Regions from separate parts of the Homo sapiens genome. Here all the other regions are linked to region 3. Evidence: promoter capture Hi-C in human tissues and cell types (Jung and others, 2019). All regions are on one chromosome and are shown on one strand. The core of a region is centred on a gene start or on the middle of the fragment in contact, and the rest is flanking DNA. Distances in the headings are between cores, read along the strand shown. Region 1 holds the start of LOC124903677 (a long non-coding RNA gene). Region 2 holds the start of ZNF688 (zinc finger protein 688). Region 3 holds the start of TBX6 (T-box transcription factor 6). Region 4 holds the start of ZNF768 (zinc finger protein 768). Region 5 has its middle 9.8 kb from the start of ZNF785.

What was found. The method cuts DNA at HindIII sites, captures the fragments that hold promoters and counts their contacts. A contact is called where the count stands out against the background at its distance.
Region 1: a contact is called between a fragment that was not itself captured here and the fragment with the promoter of TBX6 in region 3, in 1 of the 25 tissues and cell types used here (hippocampus).
Region 2: a contact is called between the fragment with the promoter of ZNF688 here and the fragment with the promoter of TBX6 in region 3, in 3 of the 25 tissues and cell types used here (H1 embryonic stem cells, hippocampus and lymphoblastoid cells).
Region 4: a contact is called between the fragment with the promoter of ZNF768 here and the fragment with the promoter of TBX6 in region 3, in 3 of the 25 tissues and cell types used here (dorsolateral prefrontal cortex, lymphoblastoid cells and small bowel).
Region 5: a fragment that was not itself captured here is called in contact with the fragment with the promoter of TBX6 in region 3 in 1 of the 25 tissues and cell types used here (lymphoblastoid cells).

Annotation. Positions count from the first base shown.
Region 1 is chr16:30,546,555-30,550,851 of GRCh38, forward strand. It overlaps LOC124903677 (a long non-coding RNA gene), which reads right to left and starts at 1,709. Exons shown (of 2, transcript XR_007065050.1): 1 at 1,563-1,709. The HindIII fragment of the contact is 3,144 bases long and covers 487-3,630 here.
Region 2 is chr16:30,570,004-30,574,256 of GRCh38, forward strand. It overlaps ZNF688 (zinc finger protein 688), which reads right to left and starts at 1,711. Exons shown (of 3, transcript NM_145271.4): 1 at 1,431-1,711; 2 at 1,007-1,120; 3 at 1-433. The coding sequence starts at 1,626. RefSeq lists enhancers at 1-52, 53-616 and a silencer at 1,479-1,718. The HindIII fragment of the contact is 17,900 bases long and covers 1-4,253 here.
Region 3 is chr16:30,089,943-30,093,970 of GRCh38, forward strand. TBX6 (T-box transcription factor 6) reads right to left here and starts at 1,982. Exons shown (of 9, transcript NM_004608.4): 1 at 1,931-1,982; 2 at 1,134-1,299; 3 at 816-1,050. The coding sequence starts at 1,251. YPEL3 (yippee like 3) reads right to left here. Exons shown (of 4, transcript NM_031477.5): 4 at 2,372-2,857. The coding sequence ends at 2,768. RefSeq lists enhancers at 446-1,319, 2,452-2,641 and a silencer at 1,972-2,231. The HindIII fragment of the contact is 30,865 bases long and covers 1-4,028 here.
Region 4 is chr16:30,524,894-30,529,235 of GRCh38, forward strand. It overlaps ZNF768 (zinc finger protein 768), which reads right to left and starts at 1,673. Exons shown (of 2, transcript NM_024671.4): 1 at 1,433-1,673; 2 at 1-1,158. The coding sequence starts at 1,520. RefSeq lists enhancers at 1,119-1,178, 2,759-3,058 and silencers at 1,379-1,428, 1,449-1,768, 1,859-2,688. The HindIII fragment of the contact is 23,531 bases long and covers 1-4,342 here.
Region 5 is chr16:30,593,259-30,597,760 of GRCh38, forward strand. No RefSeq gene overlaps it. Among named protein-coding and RNA genes, the nearest start is that of ZNF785, 9.8 kb to the left of the region's middle. The HindIII fragment of the contact is 3,722 bases long and covers 247-3,968 here.

The sequences.
Region 1 (4,297 bases), core at 809-3,308, 460 kb after region 3:
AGGAGGATTTAGAAAGTAGAACAAGACTGACAGAGGGAATGGCAGTTACAGAGAGTGAAGATGTAGCAGGACAACCTGCAGACAAAACCCTTCAGACACCGAGTTAAAGAAGGAAGGGCTTTATTCGGCCAGGTGCTTCAGCAAGACTCACTTCTCCAACAACCAAGCTCCCCGAGTGAGCAATTCCTATCCCTTTTAAGGGCTCACAACTCTAAGGGGGTCCACGTGAGAGGGTTGTGATCTATTGAGCAAGCACGGGGCACATGACTGGGGGCTGCATGCACCGGTAATTAGATCGGAACAGAACAGGACAGGGATTTTCTTTTTTTTTGAGACAGAGTCTCGCTGTGTCACCCAGGCTGGAGTGCAGTGGCGCGATCTCTGCTCACTGCAAGCTCCGTCTCCCAGGCTCACACCATTCTCCTGCCTCAGCCTCCCAAGTAGCTGGGACTACAGGCGCCCGCCATCACGCCCGGCTAATTTTTTGTACATTTAGTAGAGACGGGGTTTCACCATGTTAGCCAGGATGGTCTCAATCTCCTGCCCTTGTGATCCACCCGCCTCGGCCTCCCAAAGTGCTGGGATTACAGGCGTGAGCCACCGCGCCCAGCCCAGGACAGGGATTTTCACAGTGCTTTTCTATACAATGTCTGTAATCTATAGATAAGATAACCGATTAGGTCAGGGGTCGATCTTTAACTACCGGGCCCAGTGTGTGGCACTGGGCTGTCTGCTTGTGGATTTCATTTCTGCCTTTTACTTCTTCTTTCTTTGGAGGCAGAAATTGGGCATAAAACAATATGAGGGGTGGTCTCCTCCCTTAAAGAAAACCTGAACATAAGGAATCTCAGACCATTTCCCACTGTGATGGCAAAAGTTGTAAAGTGCTATTTTTGGGCCATTGGGAGCCACTGTCCAGTTGGTATTGAGGCCATGTGGTATTGCAGTAAAAGATAAGCCTCTTAGAACAGACCTCTGGGCCGGGTGTGGTGGCTCACGCCTGTAATCTCAGCACTTTGGGAGGCCGAGGCGGGCGGATCATGAGGTCAGGAGATCGAGACCATCCTGGCTAACACGGTAAAACCCCGTCTCTACTAAAAATACAAAAAATTAGCCGAGCGTGGTGGCGGGCACCTGTAGTCCCAGCTACTCGGGAGGCTGAGGCAGGAGAATGGCGTGAACCCAGGAGGCGGAGCTTGCAGTGAGCCGAGATCATGCCACTACACTCCAGCATGGGCAACAGAGCGAGACTCCGTCTCAAAAAAAAAAAAAAAGAACGGACCTCTGAATGGAGCCCGAGAGCATTGAGATTGCGGAATGGAGGAGGTAGGGGTAGAGGAAGAAGAGACTGCTGCTGACAAGGACGGTGGGAGAGGGCGTCCCCTTTCTTGCGGAACTTGTCCGGAATAGAGGAGGTAACTGCCGTGTCAGGCATCCCTAAAATGGAGGAACCAGAGGCCCACAGGCCGGAGGAAGCCCTTGGCCCAGCGCTGGGTCTTTCAGAAATGGAGAGATGGATGGTCAAGGGTTCTGAGGAACGGCAACAGTCTCTTTTTACTCACCCTGGTGGAGGTGGTGGATGAAGTCGTCAGCAATGGGAGAGTCTAGGAGATTCTCTGGGTCTTTGGCAGGTTCAGGGAAGGGGAGATTGGCTGGAAGAGGGGTGATAGGGTAGGGAGTAGGGAGGGAGACAGACAGAGAGAGTGAGTGAGTGAGTGAGTCCTGGCCAGAGGCTATCCCCTTCCCGGGTTTTGGCACCAGAATGTAAGGTCAGCCAAGAGAAAGGAAAAACAGACCCAAAGTTAGGCAGGTAACTTTTTATTAACCTGCTGGCTGCTCCCTTAACAGTCAGAGAGGAAGTAGCCCCAAGCTTACAGAATGAGGGGTTTATATTGGGGAGGGGAGTTTGATGGAGTTCTTTCGTATGGCCGCATCCTGGGGTTGTTTGCTGGTTAATTTTGCTACATATTACCTTGTGACGTTTATTACAGGAGGGTGTAGGTAAAGTTTGTTTATGTTTCCCATGACCTCCCCCTGTGCAGTGTGGGTGGTTTGTAATTGGGGTTTGCTTATTGCAGCAAGGTCTGATAAGCAAAGTCTGCTGGCTTCACCGTGGTGCCTAGGTAAGGGCTTAGAAATGTAAAGAGGCTTGGGGGATGGGTGGACAGCACCAAGAAGGTTTCTTGGGCAGTTTGTCCCTAACAGAGGGCTGGTTTGGAGTCAGGGAATCCTGGGGAAGAACACTGACCACTCAGGAAACATATCAAAAAACAGACACATATCCTAAGTCTACATTCATTTCATAAAAATGTATTGGCCCCCTCTTGTGTGCCAAGCATTATTCTTGGGTGGCGAAGACATTGGTGAGGCAAGATAAAGTCCCTGCACTAAGTTTACACTAAGCTGGGGGAGAGAGATACCAGGTATGAATTCAGCTGACACGAGTTTGGGGAAGACCTTCTAGGCAGATTGTGTCCAGGATAAAAACACAGAGGCACAGTTCTGAGGCTTCTAGCATGGGACAGACAGACTCCTGGAGGAATTTCTTAGAGATAGCATTGAAGGTCATTGACAGAGGAATTTGATTTGCAAGTGTAGCCTATATAGAACAGAGTAGCTAGAACAAAGGCTCATTAAGATAGAGGCATGGGCTCTATTAGCTGGGCGTGGTGGCAAGTGCGTGTGGTCCCAGGTACTTGGGAGGCTGAGGTGGGAGGATCACTTGAGTCCAGGAGGTTGAGGCTGCAGTGGGCCCAGATCACGCCACTACACTCCAGCCTGGGCGACAGAGCGAGACCCTGTCTCAAAAAAGTGTTCATAGCCAGTACCCCCATGACCTTCCAGGCCCATGGCAAACCAACCTTCTCAAAGTCAAACCCCCATCTTTCCCTACAGGCAAACGATCCCACTTAGCTCCAGCTAAATGGATGGAATCTTTGTTCTCTGAACGTGCCTGTTTTTTTCTGGAGACAGAGTCAGTCTTCTTCTGTCACTCAGCAAAGTGCTGAGATTACAGGCATGAGTCACTGCCTGGCCTGACATGCCTTTATCTCTCTCTCTTTTTTTTTTTTTTGAGATGGAGTCTCACTCTGTCGACCAGGCTGGAGTGCAGTGGCGTGATCTCGGCTCACTGCAACCTCCGCCTCCTGGGTTCAAGTGATTCTCCTGCCTCAGCCTCCTGAGTAGCTGAGACTACAGGCGCCTGCAATCACACCCAGCTAATTTTTGTGTTTTTAGTAGAAATGGGGTTTCACCATGTTGGCCAGGCTGGTCTTGATCTCTTGACCTCGTGATCCACCCACCTCGGCCTCCCAAAGTGCTGAGATTACATGTGTGAGCCACCGCGCCTAGCTAATTGTTGTAGAGATGGGTTTTCGCCATGTTGCCCAGACTGGTCTTAAACTTCTGGGGCTCAAGTGATCTGCTCCCATTGGGCTCCCAAAGTGCTGGGATTATAGGCATGAGCCACTGCGCCTGGCAACCTACATTTTTAAAAGACACTCAGCCAGGCACAGTGGTTCACACCTGTAATCCCAGCACTTTGGGAGGCTGAGATGGGAGGATCACTCAAGGTCAGGAGTTTGAGACCAGCCTGGGCTCCTGAGACAGGTTCCAAAAATAAAAACCCATAACAACAAAAGAAAGACCAGCCTGGGTGACAGAGTGAGAACTTTTCTCTAAAAAATTTTTTTTTTTTAATTAGCCAGGTATAATGGTGCACACTTGTAGTCCCAGCTATGCAGGACTGAGGCGGGAGGATGGCTTGAGCCCAGGAATTCAAGGCTGCAGTGAGCTAAGATCACACCACTGCATTCTAACCTGGGTGACACAGACAGACCGTCTCAAAATAATAATAATGATAATAATAATAAAAGATAACCTCGTGATTCTGCATCAGGGAGGCCTTATTTGAAAATACTAGCCTAGTATTAACTTCTTTGGGTCATATACATCTTTGCATGCCTACATGCCTATTCCTAGAGACACACACATACACAAACATTCCAAGGAGTTTTAGGGGTCTTGGAGCTCAGATCAACACCTAGCCTTATTTTATTATTATTATTTTTTGAGACGGAGTTTCACTCTTTTTTTTTTTTTTTTTTTTTGAGACAGAGTCTCGCTTTGTCATCCAGGCTGGAGTGTGCAGTGGTGCAATCTCAGCTCACTGCAACCTCCGCCTCCTGGGTTCACGCCATTCTCCTGCCTCAGCCTCCTGAGTAGCTGGGACTACAGGCGCCCACCACCTTGCCCGGCTAATTTTTTTTGTATTTTTAGTAGAGACAGGGTTTCACCA
Region 2 (4,253 bases), core at 461-2,960, 480 kb after region 3:
CGGATCCCAGGCCTCCGGCCCCGCCGCCCCCCGGAGCAGGAGCGGTGGATCCACTGGTGCGCTTCCACTGCGAACTTCCTCTTGAAGCGCATGCCACACTCGGGGCAGGGGAAAGGCCGCTCCCCCGAGTGCATGCGCCTGTGGCTGACCAGCAGTGAGGGGTAGGTGAAGCGGCGGCCGCAGTCCGTGCACACGTGGCGCCGCTGGCCGGCCTGAGCATCCATGCTGGGTATGGGTGCCGGGGGCTGTGCTCCTGTGGTCGGGTCCCAGGCAGCATTTTTGGGTGGCTGTGCCCGTGCCGGGGCCACGCTAATAGCTGGGTCAGGGTTGCGTTCCACCAGCACTTCAGGACTCTCCTTCACAGGAGCCTTTCTAGGCCCTTTGGCTCTTGGGACTTCCTCCGGTTCCTCTTCCTTCCTGTTTGGGACATCTCCTGGGAAACCGGAATTAAGTTACACTTACAAACACTTTTGCACAGACTGTCTCAGGTTATAGAATGCTTTTCACTTAAGGCAGTGAGGGAAGTTCTGTCCAGTGATTAACACACAGGCTTTAGAACAAGGTAAACAGGATTCAGATCTCCTAAAAGTGCCTTATCTGAGCCTTGGTTCCTTATGCATCAAATGGGAATAATAATGGCTTTTGACTTCACAGCGTTACTGGTTTAGCTGAGTAGATGCATGTTAAGCACTTAGGAAGTGCTCAGGAAGCAGGGGCTATTATTTATTTATTTATTTATTTATTTATTTATTTATTTATTTATTTTTGAGACGGAGTCTCACTCTGTCACCCAGGCTGGAGTGCCTGGTTGGACTGGGCTCCCAGTCCTCACAGGACCGCTGTCCCATGTTCTGAAAACTTTGTACCAGGTCTGCCTTCTTTACTCCTCTAGTACCCAACACAGTTGAATTTCTTTAGGGATGCTGGAAGTGGGGGCCTGAAAAGAAACTCTGCTAGACAGGAAGCCCTGGAAAACCAAGTGGGGGGACCCGGGACTATCCCTCACCTCTCCGAGCTCCTCCCAGTCTTTCCCCCTTCTCAGGATCCTGGGCGGCGGGGCTCCAAGCCTCACTCTCCTGTTCCATCCAAGAGATGAGGGCTGGTTTGGGGCCTGGGAATCCTGGGAGAGAACAGGGATCACAGCGCGGGCCTGAGAGGCCATCGTGGGAAGATGGCATTCCCCTCCAGGCTGAGGGCACCCCCTCGGAGCTTATACTCAACCTGGAAGGGGCTGCAGTGCTGCTGCCTGAATGAAATGGATGCGGGTGAAAACACTCCCGAGGGGGTACCTGAAGCCCTGGGAACGGGAGGTGGCTGCTGGTGTTGGTGCAAGAGTGCGGGATTAGGGCTCACAGTCCTCTCGGCCCTTCTACATCATCTCCCCTGTGAACCCGGTGAAGGAGGAGGGGGCTCGGACCCGGGGCTCTCACCGAGCGCGCCCAGGTGGCCGTAGGTCTCCTGCATCACGTCCCGGTACAGAGCCCTCTGCGCGGGCCGCAGACAGCCCCACTCCTCCGGGGAGAAGTACACGGCCACGTCCGCGAAGCTCACAGTCCCGGGCTTCCTGCAACCAGGCCGGGTCTCCCCGGGCCTCGGCGCCAGGAGCGGGGCTGGGGGCGGCGCCATGGGGCCTCGCAGCCCCGATCGGCGGCCGCCAGGTCCCTGGAGCCGCCGCCTCCCCGCTCCCGGCCTCAGCTGTCGTTGTCCACAGGAAGGGCGGCCCCGCCCAGCCGTGGCGTCCGAACGCAGCCGAGGCAACCGAAGTAGCAGGGACTGGCTGCTAGGGATTCGAGGATTCTGATAGGGACAAATATAATTCCTCAGTGTTTATTCACTTCATGGCCGCTTGGACATAGACACCCGGGTTAAGGGACCCGGAAGGTGCCTTCTGAAAATATGGCGACCACCCTTCAATTGTCACAGGCTGCTCTTAAGGGCGCCATTATTTGACCATATCAAATATGGAGCCTTTCTGACTTCTCTGGCCTCATCGTCCCACTTGCCCTTAAATAAAGCCGCTTCGGCTGCTTTTTCTAGTGGGGGAGGCGGGGTGTCTGGGAAGTAGAGGAGAGGCTTCTTGCCTTCAAGAAAGATGTAAGGGCCCGAAGCTTCACTTACCCCTCTGTACCCGCAATACGCAACGGCCGATGATTGGCGACGATCCCGGAAGAAGCTGCGCGGTGATTGGCCTGGGACTGGCGGGGCATTTGAAGGGACCCCGCGGTCCTGAAGCCTCTGTTGACAGACTGGAGCGCAGCGGAGACCTCGGCATCTGCGGTGCTCGGGATTGTGTCCCCTACGGTCTCTTACCGTGCCTCCCGATGGCGGGAGCTGGAATTTGGTCCCCAGACCCCTTGGGAAGACGCGCACACCCTGGCAAACCATGTGTACACCCGCGGTAGAAGCAGGTGCGTGTTTTACAGTAGCTTAGCTGCGGAGTCCACCCAGCCCCTGGCATCCGCAGCTCGGCTCGCTCAGGCTCTAGACCGAAGCTGCAGGCGAAGGAACGTGCTTGGTGAGGATGGAATCGGAATGGGGAAGTTTTAAATTAAATAGTAATTGTTGCTAACATACATGAATTTATTTTTTGTTTGTTTTGAGACAGGGTCTTGCTCTGTGGCCCAGCAGTGCGATCCTAGCTCACTGCAGACTCGACCTCCCGGGCTGAAGCGATCTTCTCACCTCAGCCTCCCGAGTAGCTGGGACCACAGGCGCACACCCAATGCTTGGCTAATTTTTAAATTTTAAAACAGAGACAGGGTCTTGCTATGTTGCCCAGGCTGGTCTGGAACTCCTGGCCTCAAGCAATTCTCCTGCCTCGGCCTCCCAAAGTGCTGTGATTACAGGCATGCGCCACGGTTCCCAGCCATTTCTACTTTTTCTTTGAGAAGGAGTTTTACTCTTGTTGCCCAGGCTGGAGTGCAATGGCGCTATCTCGGCTTGCCCAGGCTGGAGTGCAATGGCGCTATCTAGGCTCACCGCAACCTTCGCCTCCCAGGTTCAAGCGATTCTCCTGCCTCAGCCTCCCAAGTAGCTGGGATTACAGGCATGAGCCACCATGCCCGTCTAATTTTGTATTTTTAGTAGAGACGGGGTTTCTCCATATTAAGTCAGGCTGGTCTCGAACTCCCGACCTCAGGTGATCCTCCCGCCTCAGCCTCCCAAAGTGCTGGGATTACAGGCGTGAGCCACGGCGCCCGGCCCTGCCATTTCTACTTATTTACGTTGTTCCAAATTATCAAAGATAGCATCAACTTTCAAATCCTAATTTTTTTTTTCCTGGGAAACCTTCCTCCTTTAGCCTTCAGTCTCCTCTCTAAACTGGGTTGGGCCTCAGTTCTTCTCATACCGGGTCTCCCCTTCCTGCTGTCCTGGGTTGTATCTTCCGCTTCCTAGATTTAAGGTCTTTATTTTTCAGCCAAGATGGGTCATCCTCATGGCTGGTGGCATTGGACTGTAAATACTAGTTGCCTTCATCCCCACATTTGGAATATACCTGCAATCATACAGGATGCAGAATACTGTTTGCTAAGCGTGGGGCTGGTTGCTGGAGATAACAAGCAAGGCCTACCAGGTCCCTGCTGTCATTCTGGCTCTGGATCTACTTGCTTGGCTCCCCTGCCAGCCCTAGTATATCGAGCCTTCCTTTTTATTCAATAGTGTTTTTTATTGCTGACTTTTCAGTCAAGATTTCTTTGTGTTTTCTGGCCTACCCTTGCTGTTTTTCACCTGAAATGCTTTTTGGCTTTTAGTGTGACTCCTGCTGATCTCATATGCATATGTTATTAATTGATTAATTATTAATTGTTAATAATTAAATATTATTAATATGCTTACATTATTACCTTGAGTTCTGGAACTGCCTCACTGCACTCCATGTGGTGAATACTGTAGAAATTATATAAGGAAAAATATATCCTTAGAAATGAGTATTTTTTAAATTTTGAAAATATTTAATTTAGGCCCAGCCCAGTTGCTCACACCTGTAATCTCAGCACTTTGGGAGGCTGAGGTGGGCAGATTGCTTTAGGCCAGAAGTTAGAAACCAGCATGGGCAACATGCTGAAACTCCATCTCTACTAAAAATACAAAAATTGGCCAGGTCTGGTGGTGCACACCTGTAGTCCCAGCTACTCAGGAGGCTGAGGCACAAGAATTCCTTGAACCCAGGAAGCAGAGGTTGCAGTGAGCAAGATCATGCCACTGCACTTCAACCTGCGTGACAGAGTGAGACCCCGTCTCAAAAAGAAAAA
Region 3 (4,028 bases), core at 732-3,231:
AAAAAAAAAAAAAGAAGCCAGAGGGCGGAATCTTAGAGCTGGAAGGTTTTCTTGTCTCATTTTACATTTGGGGAAACAGGACAGACGGGTTAAGTGATCTGTCACACAGCAGGTTAGGAACAGAGCCATGACTCCTACCCCTCAAAGCCTATTTGCAGAAGCAGGGGTGACTAACTTTCTTGCTAGGAGCTTCCTGTCCCCACCCTCCTCTCCTCCCCTGATCTCCAGCACCAGAATCTGCAGCTCTTAGATGAATTTGCTTTAGAAAAAATATACCCTGCCTGCAGTAGGGCCGAGGACTTTCCATGCTAGGGCTTGAGTTCCTGCCCCAGCTAAAGACCTCATCTAAGGTCAAACACTGACCGTGTCCCTGCCTCTAGGGTGACCCTGGACCTAGTCATATACTGACTCCTATTCGAGTTGCATACTGATCCCGAATCCTGGCCAGATTTCCCTGATGCTGGTCAATGGGCTGGCCCTTGACCCCCTGTCCTTGTCTGGATGCTGGTCTAAGCCACACACTAACCTATAACCCAGAGGGACTTCCTGACCCTGCCCCAGACTGACCCATGACCCTTGCCATAGATTGGTCCCTAAACTCAGCCACAGACTCCACAGACTGGCCCTTAACCCTTGTCACAGAGTGACTCCTGATTCCTGCCACAGAGTAACCCTTGCCCCAGGCCATAGTCAGATTCTAGGCCTAGGCAGAGCTCTAGCCCCTCGGGAACCACCCAGTCCTAGCCCCCTCCCCAGGGACTCTGCCTTTCCCAAGAGACCCCCACCAGAAACACGGACCCTGGCCAGCCCCTCACCTCCCAGCTTTGGTGATGATCATTTCTGTTCCCACAGAGCTGAACTCCTTCCATAGCTCCCGGTTCTCCAGGCTCAGGCTGACCCCCGGGAGGGAATGGAGGGCCTCTGGAGCTGATGGGGCCGGCTCAGTGCCCATGGCAGGGGGCAGAAGGGGCAGAGGTGGGTGCGCGGCCAGGGTGCGGGGAGCAGCCTCCATCCCGGAGAGGAAGCAATCCAGTTTAGGGGTGTCCAGTTCTGGAAGCCGGGGAAGAATGAGGAGCCAGCCGAGGGCCACAGCCCCCCTATTCTCCTACCCAGGAGCTGGTCCCAACGCTCACCGGGGTAGCGGTAGCCCTCCGCTAGGGCGGGTGGGAAGCTGGAGTCGGCCCCAGGTTGGGCGGGCCCCAGGCGGTAGCCGGCCCCCAGGGACGGGTACAATTCTCGTGGATGGTACATGTTGTAGTTCCGTCTGGCCTCAGGTCTCGCTGCTTAGGGCCCCCGGTGCTGCGAGATGCCCCCTTTATAGCTCACAGCTCAGCCCCTTCCAGATCCAGGATCACAGCCCCTCCCCTCTTTGGGGCCCTGGAGTTGGGCTGGGGTGGAGACCCCTGGGGCCTCGAAGGGGTCCGAGAGGGGGTCGGATACCTGGGTACGGTCCCCTCCTCCCCTCCCTCCCCACCCCGGGAGGCTTCATTAGCCTCGACCCCCTGCCCCCTCATTACATAATTAACTCCTCGGCTTGATTGATCCCCAGGGCTCGGACAGGGACGCAGTTTGGCGCTTCCGGCCAGCTGGTCCCCGTTCCCACGGTGGGGAGCCCCGGCTAGGGATAAGCTGGGGGGCGGGGCCTGGAACCTGGACGGAGCCAAGAGTCCCGGGACACACCTTGGCGCCCCAGACCTTCTGGCAGGTGACCGCCCTCCGCCCCCCTTCACTTGGAGGCCGGGCCCTGGAGGGAAGCAGCGTGAACAGAGGGAAAGTGCAGGCTAGAGGGACGCGGCCTGAGCTGATTTCACAGGGCACTCGGGGCCGCGAGGAGGCCGCAGCCCAGTCCCGAGCACCGTAGTCCTCCCTGGTCCCCATGCTAAAAAAACCTCCATCCCGAGCCAAGCCTCCAAAGTTCGAAGGCGCTCACAGTCCGACAGCTTCTGACGCCTCGCGCCAGGGTTTCCCGAAGGTCCCGCGCTGGGGAACCCTCGGAACTACACTTCCCGGCAGGCTCAGCGCTGAGGCGCGCCCGAAGGAGCCGGACGGACCACGCGGGGGCCGCTGGGAGTTGCAGTCCGACCGCGAGGGGGCTGCGAGGCCGGCGGCGCGGTTGCCTCCCTGGGACGCTGCCCCTAGGCGGCGGCCAAACGCTGCAGATGAGCAGACGCAGATCAGCCGAGGTCACGGCGTAGGCAGCCAGAGTGGGCTCAGGACCTCCGCCAGCAGTGAAACCGTCCCGGTTCCCGGAGACCCAGCTTGGACGGCTGTGCCTACCCCATGCCCCGCCGGGGCTCAGAACCGCACAGGTCTATAGGGGCGGAAATCTCCGCTTGAGCTCCCCCTTCCCGGATTACACGCGAGCCTGAGCTGTCTCCACTCCATTGTTTTATTATGTACAAACGCTACAGAACGAGGGGGACAGACACGCGTGGGGTAAGAAGGGCCTGGTGGGAGGAGTTCACAGAGCAGACGGTGCACTGGGACCAGGAGAGCAGAACACAGGCCATAACTATAGGGCAGGTGGGGCAGGAACGGGTTAAAAACGAGATCCAAGCCAGCCAGATCGCAGGAGGTGCGGGGGCGTCGTCCCCCTTCTGTTCTCCCCCCAAGGTCACAGTGCATGCAATAAAATATATATACAGGAGCTAGATCCGTCCTCTGCAGGGGCTCTGAGGGTCCAGAGCTCCCTTCGGGTGGCGGGAAGCCAGTGGCGCTCCCTGGCGGCCAGGCCGGGCTGGAGCCACATGCGTCGGGGGAGCGGGGGTCAGTCCCAGCCGTTGTCTTTGATCATGTGGTTGAGTTCAATGATGTACTTCCCCTCTTTGTACTTCTGGCTGCTCTCAAAGGCCTGTTCCTGAAAGGAGGGGCGGGACCGTCATCCCCGGAGCAACAGTCTCACCACAAGGCACTGGGGTTGGGAAGTGGACATGAGTGGCCCCATTTTACATATGAGGAAACTGTGGCCCAGAGGGGCAGGGCCGTATTTCTCACAAACACAGAGTAGAATAGAACTCCCTGACTCAAAGGTACTTTTTTAAGTACTAATGATGGCTCCAACAGAGAAGATAGGGAAGTGGCTAAAAGATTTCACAGTTCAGGGTTTGCAAACTGGTAGCTTCATGGCCATTTTGGCCTACAACATGTATTATGTTTGGACAGCAGACAGTTTAATAAAAATAACTTTAAAGTATTAAAATATAAGTAGGCCTTGCTCACTCCAGTTTGCCCAGCCTGCCCCCAACTCCCAACCCTGCCAATCTATGCTACCCTTTACACATCTACAGTATCTGCTTGGCCTTGCAGGCACTTGAGGTTTTTTTGTTTGTTTGGTTTTGAGAGGGAGTCTTGCTCTGTCGCCCAGGCTGGAAGTGCAACGGCGCGATATCGGCTCACTGCAACCTCCGCTTCCCGGGTTCAAGTGATTCTGCTGCCTTGGCCCCGAGTAGCTGGGATTACAGGCGCCCACCACCACGCCGAGCTAATTTTTGTATTTTTAGTAGAGATGGGGTTTCACCATGTTAGTCAGGCTGTTCTCGAACTCCTGACCTCAGGTGATCCACCTGCCTCAGACTCCCAAAAGTGCTGGGATTACAGGCGTGAGCCACCACACCCAGCCTGGCACTTGAGTTTTTGACCTCTTGTTTAGGCCAGCTCTTTATTAATTATTATTATTTTTGAAACGGAGTCTCGCTCTGTCTCCGCTCACTGCAAGGCTCTGCCTCCTGGGTTCACGCAATTCTCCTGCCTCAACCTCATGAGTAGCTGGGACTAGAGGCGCCCGCCACCACACCCAGCTGATTTTTTTTTTTTTTTTTTGTATTTTTGGTAGAGATGGGGTTTCACCGTGTTAGCCAGGATGGTCTCAATCTCCTGACCTTGTGATCCACCCGCCTCGGCCTCCCAAAGTGCTGGGATTACAGGTGTGAGCCACTGTGCCTGGCCGGCCAGCTCTTTATTTGGTAGAGGTCCAGAGTGGCCAAGCCACCTGTCCAGAGACACACAGCCAATCTGTGGCAGGGTCAGCA
Region 4 (4,342 bases), core at 423-2,922, 430 kb after region 3:
GGGCCGACCGCTGGGAGAAGCTCTTGCCGCAGATGCCACAGCTGAAGGGCCTCTGACCGGTGTGCACCCTCTGATGGCTGCGCAGGGACGAGTTCTGGCTATAGCACTTGCCGCACTCGGTGCAGCTGTAGGGCCGCTCGTGGCTGTGGGTGCGCTGGTGTCGCAGGAGGTAGGAGCTGTCGCCGAAGGCCTTGCCACAATGTGGGCACTTGTAGGGCTTCTGGCCAGAGTGAGTGCGCTGGTGGCGAAGCAGGTAAGAGCTGTCGGCGAAGGCCTTGCCGCAACGGGGACATTTGTAGGGCCGCTCGCCAGTGTGGGTGCGCTGGTGTTTGATGAGGTCAGAGCTCTGGGAGAAGGCCTTGCTGCAGACCTCACATTTGTAGGGCTTCTCACCGGTGTGGATGCGCTGGTGCTGGATCAGGGTGGAGCCCCGCCCGAAGCTCTTCCCGCAGATGCCACAGATGTTAGGCCGAGGGCCCTGCCCACCCCTGGCCCGGCCACCCCGCCGACCTGGACCTCGAAGGGCTCCTGTGAGACCCAGGGGATTCTGAAGCATCTCAAACTGCGGTGTAGACAGCAGGGCCCCTGTGGGCATCTCAAAAGGTGGCCCTATGGGCAGGTCCCCTGTGGGCTGCTCCCCAAACCCCTGAGTGAAGGAGTCCAGGGGGTGAACTCCTACGGAGATATTCAAAGGACTCTTTTCCTCGGGGTTCAGAAGCATCTCCGCACCTTCCTGGAATTTGGAACTTTGAGCTTCAAATTCTGGGCTTTGGGTTTTGAGCTCAGTGTTCTGGGATTCATATCTAGAGCTCTCAGATTCATAGCCAGGGCTCCGGGGTTCATACCCGGGGCTCCGAGGTTCATAGCCAGGGCTTTGGGGTTCATACCTAGGGCTCTGGGATTCAAACTCAGGGCTCTGAGAATCTGATTCAGGGCTTCTGGGTGCAAACTCAGGGCTTGGGGGCACAAGCCCAGGGCTTCGGGACTCAAACCCCGGGCTTTCAGGCTCAAATCTGGGGCTTTGGGGTTCAAACTCTGGGCTTTGTGGCTCAAACCCAGGGCTCTGGGGTTCAAGCCCAAATGGTATCTCTTCGACTTCATAGTCCCCACTGCCTTCTTGCTGAGAAATTTCCTCTTCCTCATTCTCACTCATGTTGCCTGCAGGATGAGAGAATCCAGATCGTGTGAGACCTGGAAGGTCATTTGGTCCATTAGCAACCACACACCTCCCACCTCACATGCAGGGTCGCTGGCCCCTAGACAAGTGCTGAAATTCCCACGCCCCCCTCAGCTGACCCAAGACACCCCAGTCCCCGCCGGCCCCTCCTTCGAGTCCCAGGTGTCCCAGCCCCGGGCCCTCGCTCCCTCCCTGGAGCCACAGCCCCTTCTCCTGCGCGCAAGTCCACTCCTCGGACGGGCGCTCCCTCCTCACCTCTGAGGTACCCTTCGGGGCTCCTCATTTCGTCAGAACTCTGCACATCCTGGGGCTCGAGGCCCCACGGCAACGCCTCCCGCTCCATCCCCGCGGGCTCCCAGTGCAGCGGCGGCGGCGATGGCGGCCGATCCCGCGACCCGGCCTCGGTTGCCCCGAGCCGCGGGCCCCCGCCTCCCGCCCGCTCAGCGCCGCCCAGGGGACTCGGCGGCCCAGCCCGGGCCCCCGAGGCCGGACGTCTTGACCCCGCGCCTCTCCAGCGCGCCGGGCCCCTCCCCTGCCCGCGGCCCCGCCCCCTCCCAAGGTCTCGGCCTCCCCGTGGCCCTCACTGGCCCCCGCGCGTCGCGGCCTCGGGGATGAGGGGCTTCGCGACTACCCCGGCGGCCCCCGGCCCCCGCTCCCGCCCGAGCCCCCACCTTCTGGACCCCGGCCCCGGGCTGGGCTGCACTGTCCAACGGCCGCCCAGCACCCCCCCACCCTCCCCCGCACAGGAAGTGTCCGTCCGCGGCCAGGTCCCCCCGCCGGCTCGCGCCGCGGCCTCTCTAGGAGCCGCTGGAGGTGGAAACTCGTTGGCATTAACCCTGGGCTGGAGGGGCCCGGCCACGGGGTGGGTGAGGACCGGACGCCCCGGAGCCCGCGGGGCTACCGGGGCAGTGTGTGTGCCTATGTTCTAGGTCTCCGTCCCTCCAGAGGCCCGTCTGTCCATCTCCCGGGCCCCGCGTCGTCGGTGCGTGTGGCCAAGGGCGAGGCGACAAGCGAGACCAAGGTCAGCGAGAAGGAGCGACGCTTCCCGGCGCCAGCGGGGGCGGTGTCTCGCTCCCTCCCCTCCCGGGCCTCCGGGTCAGCTCCGGCAGCGCCTCGGGAACCGGGACGGACTCCCCTTGGCCTCGCCGAGGTCCTTGAGCCTGGGACCCCCTCCAGGAACTCCGCTCCCCGGCACCTGCGCGCGCCCGCTCCCGTTCCTCCGGCCCCCACCCAGCTCGGCTCCCCTGATCCTCCTCCTCCCTCCTCCCTCCTCGAGGGCTAGGATAGTTGCCAAGGAGACAGCCCCGCCCCGGCTCCCAGAGGCACAGCTTCTCCGCCCCAGGAAGCCCGGCGGTTGGCCGATGGGGCTCGTGCTCTAGCCGCCCCGCCTCCTCCAACCCCGCGGACGGCTGGGCGTTAATGGTCGCCAGGGAACGCCAGGCGCCTTCCTGATTGGCCGGGAGTGCTGTGGTCGGGTCCGCCTCCCCTGTCGGCCAGAAGCGCCTTCAGGAGGTAGTGGGAGGGAGGTGCCAGGCATCTCCCCTCCAGCCCGGCCTGTGCCATCAAAACTTTTCCCGCCCCCACTTAGCCTCCATTATGTTTTATGAAAGCCAGAAGATCTGAGGACAGACACCCTTCCTCCTCGTCAGCCTCACACCCCTTGCCTCTCCCCTCCACCTTCCCCAGCGCCTGAGTTTAACTCAATCCCTGGCAGCCTTAGTCCCTGTTGTTAGATTTCCTCACAGGGAGGCAGGATTCCTTCCAGGTGAGGGTGATACAAAGGAGAATTGGACTGAGAGAACCATCTGGCCTTCGAGGCATCTAACAACTCTCCAGTCTTGTCTGACTCGAATGGAGTCTTGCAGAGGAAGGGAACCTGAGAAACACTGCCTCGGGCGCAGCTTTGAATTGAGGAAGTGAGCCTGGACAGACAACTTAATATCATCCAGTTCTTGTCTTTTTTTTCTACGCTTCGTGCTGAAACAAGTTTGGCAGCGTTCTTGACAGTTAACGAGCCCGATGCCCCTGTGTGAGCAGGAGCCATGGATCGTGTTTTCTTGTCGCCTACCCAGACAAATGAAGGGAAGAGAATGTTTGGGAGGAAGGATGGCCTCTCCTTCCTGAAAAGAGGTGAGAACAAGAACTTGAAGAATGCCAAGTGGTAAAAAGTGGAGAGAAACTATCTAAATAAAGGCTTACAGGTGGGGCGCACTGGCTCATGTCTGTAATCCCAGCACTTTTGGGAGGCCAAGGCAGGTGGATCACGAGGTCAGGAGTTCAAGACCAGCCTGGCCAAGATGGTGAAACCCCGTCTCTACTAAAAAAATACAAAAATTAGCCAGGCACGGTGGTGGGCACCTGTAATCCCAGCTACTTGGGAGGCTGAGGCAGGAGAATCACTTGAACCCGGGAGGCGGAGGTTGCAGTAAGCCGAGATCTCGCCACTGCACTCTAGTCTGGGTGACAGAGCAAGACTCCGTCTCAAATAATAATAATAAAGGCTTACAAATAAAATCACAAGAGCTTATGCCACGAATGAAGCGGGGAAAACTTTCTGCCCTCCAGAGAAACAGCTTCCAGCCCCATAGCTCTCTCCCATCCCAATGTATGTTTGTCTTGAAACCTTTGCTAAGAATGGCTTACATGGTCCAGCACTAGAGCCCACAGTCAAACAGCCTACAAGAGGACCAGTTTTGGGAAGAGCTGGACATGGGGTACCCTCTGGTCATCCCCAAAGCACTCACACAGGTAGGAAACAAGTCTCCTTCACAAGACACTTTTCTCTGACATCCAACTTGCTGATCCACCAAAATTCACACAGGAGAGCAGCCACACCCTAAAAATGGGTGGCGAGACCTCCAGCCACAGCTCTGACACCGTACACTGCCTGCACTCTTATCATGAGCCACAAGTCCCAGGTGTAGCAGAAGCTGGGCCAAGACTTCATGCTGCCCAGGCACCCGCATTTCCAAGTGCAAATTCAGCCTCACTGGCACCTGGAGTAAGAGTGGCTCACTTCCAGCCAGCCTCCTCTAGGACCAGGGTGCCATCTATGCACAGGGACTTCACAAGGAAGCCAGCCTCCACCTGACACACAGCCACAGCAGTGAGAGGCTCCAAGCCCAGGAAAGCCTCTGATAAGGGCTGCATCTTGACCCAACACCA
Region 5 (4,502 bases), core at 858-3,357, 500 kb after region 3:
AGGCTGAGGCAGGAAGATCACTTGAGCTGAGGAGTTTCGGGCTGCAGTTGAGCTATGATCACGTCACTGCACTCCAACCTTCGTGACAGAGCAAGACCCATCTCTAAATTAAAAAAAGAAAAAAGGTGGGGGGAGAGAGTACAGTATATGATATATATGACATACAAAATATGTTTTTGTTTTTTTCTTTTTGAGACAGGGTCTGGCTCTGTCACCCAGGCTGGAGTGCAGTGGCTACCATCCTGGCAACCTCTGCCTCCTGAGCTCAAGCCATCCTCCTACATTAGCCTCCCAAGTAGCTGGGAATACAGGTACATGCCACCATGCTTGGCTAATTTTTTAATTTTTTGTAGAAGCGGGGTTTCACCTTGTTGTCCAGGCTGGTCTCGAACTCCTGAGCTCAAGCAGTCCTCTCGCCTCAGCCTCCCAAAGTGCTGGGATTACAGGCGTAAGCCCAAAAAAGTATATATGTATTTAAATATTTACTATCTGATTTTTTTTTTTTAGGACAAGGTCTGGCTCTGTCACCCAGGCTGGAGTGCAGTGGTGAGATCTCGGCTCACTGCAACCTCCACCTCCCAAGCTCAAGCAATCCTCCTGGCTCAGCCTCAGCTGGGATTACAGGCATGCGCCATGGCACCCAACCCCAAAACATGTTTTAATTGACTATTTATGTTATTGGTAAGGCTTCCAGTCAACAGTAGTTAAGTTTTGGGGAGTCAAAAGTTAGTGGAGGCCGGGTATGGTGGCTAATGCCTGTAATCCTAGCACTTTGGGAGGCCGAGGTGGATGGATCACCTGAGGTCAGGAGTTCGAGACCAGCCTGGCCGGTATGGTAAAACCCTGTCTCTACTAAAAATACAAAAATTAGCCAGGCTTGGTGGCACATGCCTGTAATCCCAGCTACTCGGCAGGCTGAGGCACAGGAATTGCCTGAACGCAGGTGTAAGAGATTGCAGTCAGCCGAGATTGTGCCACTTCACTCCAGCCAGGGCCAAACAGCAAAACTCCATCTCAAAAAAAAAAAAAAAAAAAGGCAGAATAGATGTTACTAGAGGCTAGAAAGGGAAGGGTAGGGGCAAGGGTGGGATAGGGAAAAATTTGTTAATGGACATAAAATTATTAGCTATATTGGAGGAATAAGTTCTAGTGTTTTATAGCACCGTAGGATGACTATAGTTAACAATAATATACTATATATTTTCAAATAGCTAGAAGAGAAGATATTGAATGTTCCTAACACAAAGAAATAATAAATGTTTTAAATGATGGGTATGTTAATTGCCCCGATTTGATCACTACACATCATATGTATAGAAACATCACCACATACCCCATATTTATGTATAGTTATTATGTATGAATTAAGAAGAATAATGGACCCCAAAGATTTCACATCCTAATCTGCAAAACCTTTGATTGTGTTACCTTATATTAGCAAATAGGACTTCGCAGATGTGATTAAACTAAGGATTTTGAGTTAGGAACACTAACCTGTTGAGTCTAATGTAATCACAATGGTCCTTATAAAAGGGAGGCAAGAGGGTAAAAGTCTGAGAAGGATATGTGACAACAAAAGCAGAGGTGGAGTGATGCAGTTGCTGGAGAGGGGCCACTAGCCAAGGAATGCAGGCAGCCTCTAGAAGCTGGAAAAGGCAAGAAACAGATTCTCCCTAGAGCCTCTAGAAAAGGAATGCAGCCCTGCCAACACCTTGATTGTCCCATAAGACCTATTTTCAGACTTTAGACCTGAAGAACTATAAGACGATAAATTTGTGTTGTTTTCAGCCACCAGTTTCTAGTAATTTCTTACAGTAACAAATGAACACAGATAACATTGTTGAGGAGCATTTCTGAGTTTGTCAACTACTCTATTGATGTGGGAGCACTCTCCCAGCTCTGAACTCAAGAAAGTCTAAAAAGAAGTAGGACTCAGAGACATTATGCTGAATAAAAGAAGCTTTAGACAAAAAAAAAAAAAAAAAAAAATACACACTGTATGATTCCAATTATATGAAGTTTTATAACAGGGAACACTAATTAGAATAGTAGTTGTCTCTGGTGGGGTGGGAATGGGAATTGACTAGGAAGGGGCATAAGGCAACTTTCTTTCTTTTCTTTTCTTTTTTTTTTTTTGAGACAGAATCTCACTCTGTCGCCAGGCTGGAGTACAGCGGCAGAATCTCAGCTCACTGCAATCTTTGACTCCCTGGTTCAAGCGCTTCTCCTGCCTGAGCCTCCCTAGTAGCTGGGATTATGGGCACATGCCACCATGCCCAGCTAATTTTTGTATTTTTAGTAGAGACGGGGTTTCACCATATTGGCCAGGATGGTCTCGAACTCCTGACCTCGTGATCTGCCTGCCTCAGCCTCCCAAACTACTGGGATTACAGGCATGAGCCACTGTACCCAGCCACATGAGGCAACTTTCTAGGATGATGGTAATGTTATGTATTTGGATAGGGGTTTCAGTTACAGATGTATACGTCTTTGTCAACACTCAGCAAATATACACTTAAAGTTTGTGCATTTTATGTACTTTTAACTCAAAAAATATATAAAACAAACGTGGAGCTCTAGTTAATGATATGCATGTTGAAATGTTTACGGGTGAAGTGTACTGATTTCAGCAATTTTTTTTACATGCACCCAAAAACAAAGTGTACTGGTAGAGTAACTGATAGTTACATGATAAAGCAGATACACTAAATGTTAGTGATAGAATCTAGGTGGTGAGTATATGGGTATTCTCTGTAAAAGTCCTTCAACTTTACTGTGTCTTTCAAAACTTTTAAAATGAATGGTGGCTGGGTGCAGTGGCTCACACCTGTACTCCTAGCACTTTGGGAGTCTGAGGCAGGTGGATCGCCTAAGGTCAGGAGTTTGAGACCAGCCTGGCCAACATTGTGAAACTCCATCTCTACTAAAAATACAAAAATTAGCTGGGCATGGTAGCTCATGCCTGTAATCCCAGCTACTCTGGGAGGCTGAGGCCCGAGAATCGCTTGAACCTGGGAAGTGAAGGTTGTAGTGAGCCAAGATCGCACCATTGCACTCCAGCCTGGGCAATGGAGTGAGACTTCATCTCAAAAGAAAAAAAAAAGCAAAACCACTATTGAGAATGAAAAGACACTCCACAGAATGGGAGAAAATATTTGTAAATCATGTGTCTAATAAGGGATTAATATTCAGAATTTATAAATAACTCCGGTAACTCAACAACCACTAAAAAATAAAAACCCAATTTAAAAGCAGGCAAAGAGGCTGGGCACGGTGGCTCACACTGTCATCCCAGCACTTTGGGAGGCCAAGACAGGCAGATCACTTGAGGCCAGAAATTCGAGACCAGCCTAGCCAACAGAGATGATGAAACTCCATTTCTGCTAAAAATACAAAAATTAGCCGGCATTGTGGCACAGACCTGTAATCCCAGCTACTCAGGAGGCTAAGGCATGAAAATCACTTGAGCCTGGGAGGTGGAGGGTGCAGTGAGCCAAAATGGCACCACAGCATTCCAACCTGGGCAACAGAGCAAGACACCACTCAAAAAAAGAATTAAAAAAAAAAAAGATGAAAGCAGGCATAGGATTTATATAGACATTTCTCCAAAGAAGATATACAGATGAGCTGGGCGTGGTGACTCACGCCTGTAATCCCAGCACTTTGGGAGGCTGAGGCAGGTGAATCACCTGAGATCAGGAGTTCAAGACCAGCCTGGCCAACATGGTGAAACCCCATCTCTACTAAAAATACAAAAAAAAAAAAAAATTAGCCGGGCGTGGTGGCGCACGCCTGTAATCCTAGCTACTTGGGAGGCTGAGGCAGGAGAATTGCTTGAACCTAGGAGACAGAGGTTGCAGTGAGCCGAGATCTTGCCGTTGCACTCCAGCCTGGGCAACAGAGTAAGACTCTATCTCAAAAATAATAAATGAATAAACACACAAACAAACAAATAATAAATAATTATCACTTTTTTGCATTTTCCCAATTTCTTTACTGATTATTTTTGGGATTTGGAAAAAACATAAGGCCGGGCGAGGTGGCCCACACCTGTAATCCCAGCACTCTAGGAAGCCAAGGCAGGAGGATTGCTTGAGCCCAGGAGTTCGAGACCAGCCTGGGCAACATGGAGAAACCTCATCCCTACAAAGAATACAAAAAAATTAGTTGGGTGTGGTGGCACATGCCTGTGGTCCCAACTACTCAGGAGGCTGAAGCAGGAGGATCACTTGAGCTCAGGGAAGTAGAAGCTGCAGTGAGCCATGATCACACAACTGCACTCCAGCCTGGGCCACAGAGCAAGACTCTTTCTTGCTGGGAAGGAATTCTCACATGTACGCACTAGCAGAAGCCACAAGCGGCACCAGGAAGACTAGAAGAATGCGGGGCATGAAAGCTAAGTTACAAGAGAGCTTAAGTAGGAAAACTAAGGTATGTAAGATAAAAATTGAAGCACTGATTTGTTAACTAGGTCATCAGTTATCTTAAAGGACAGTCTTAGA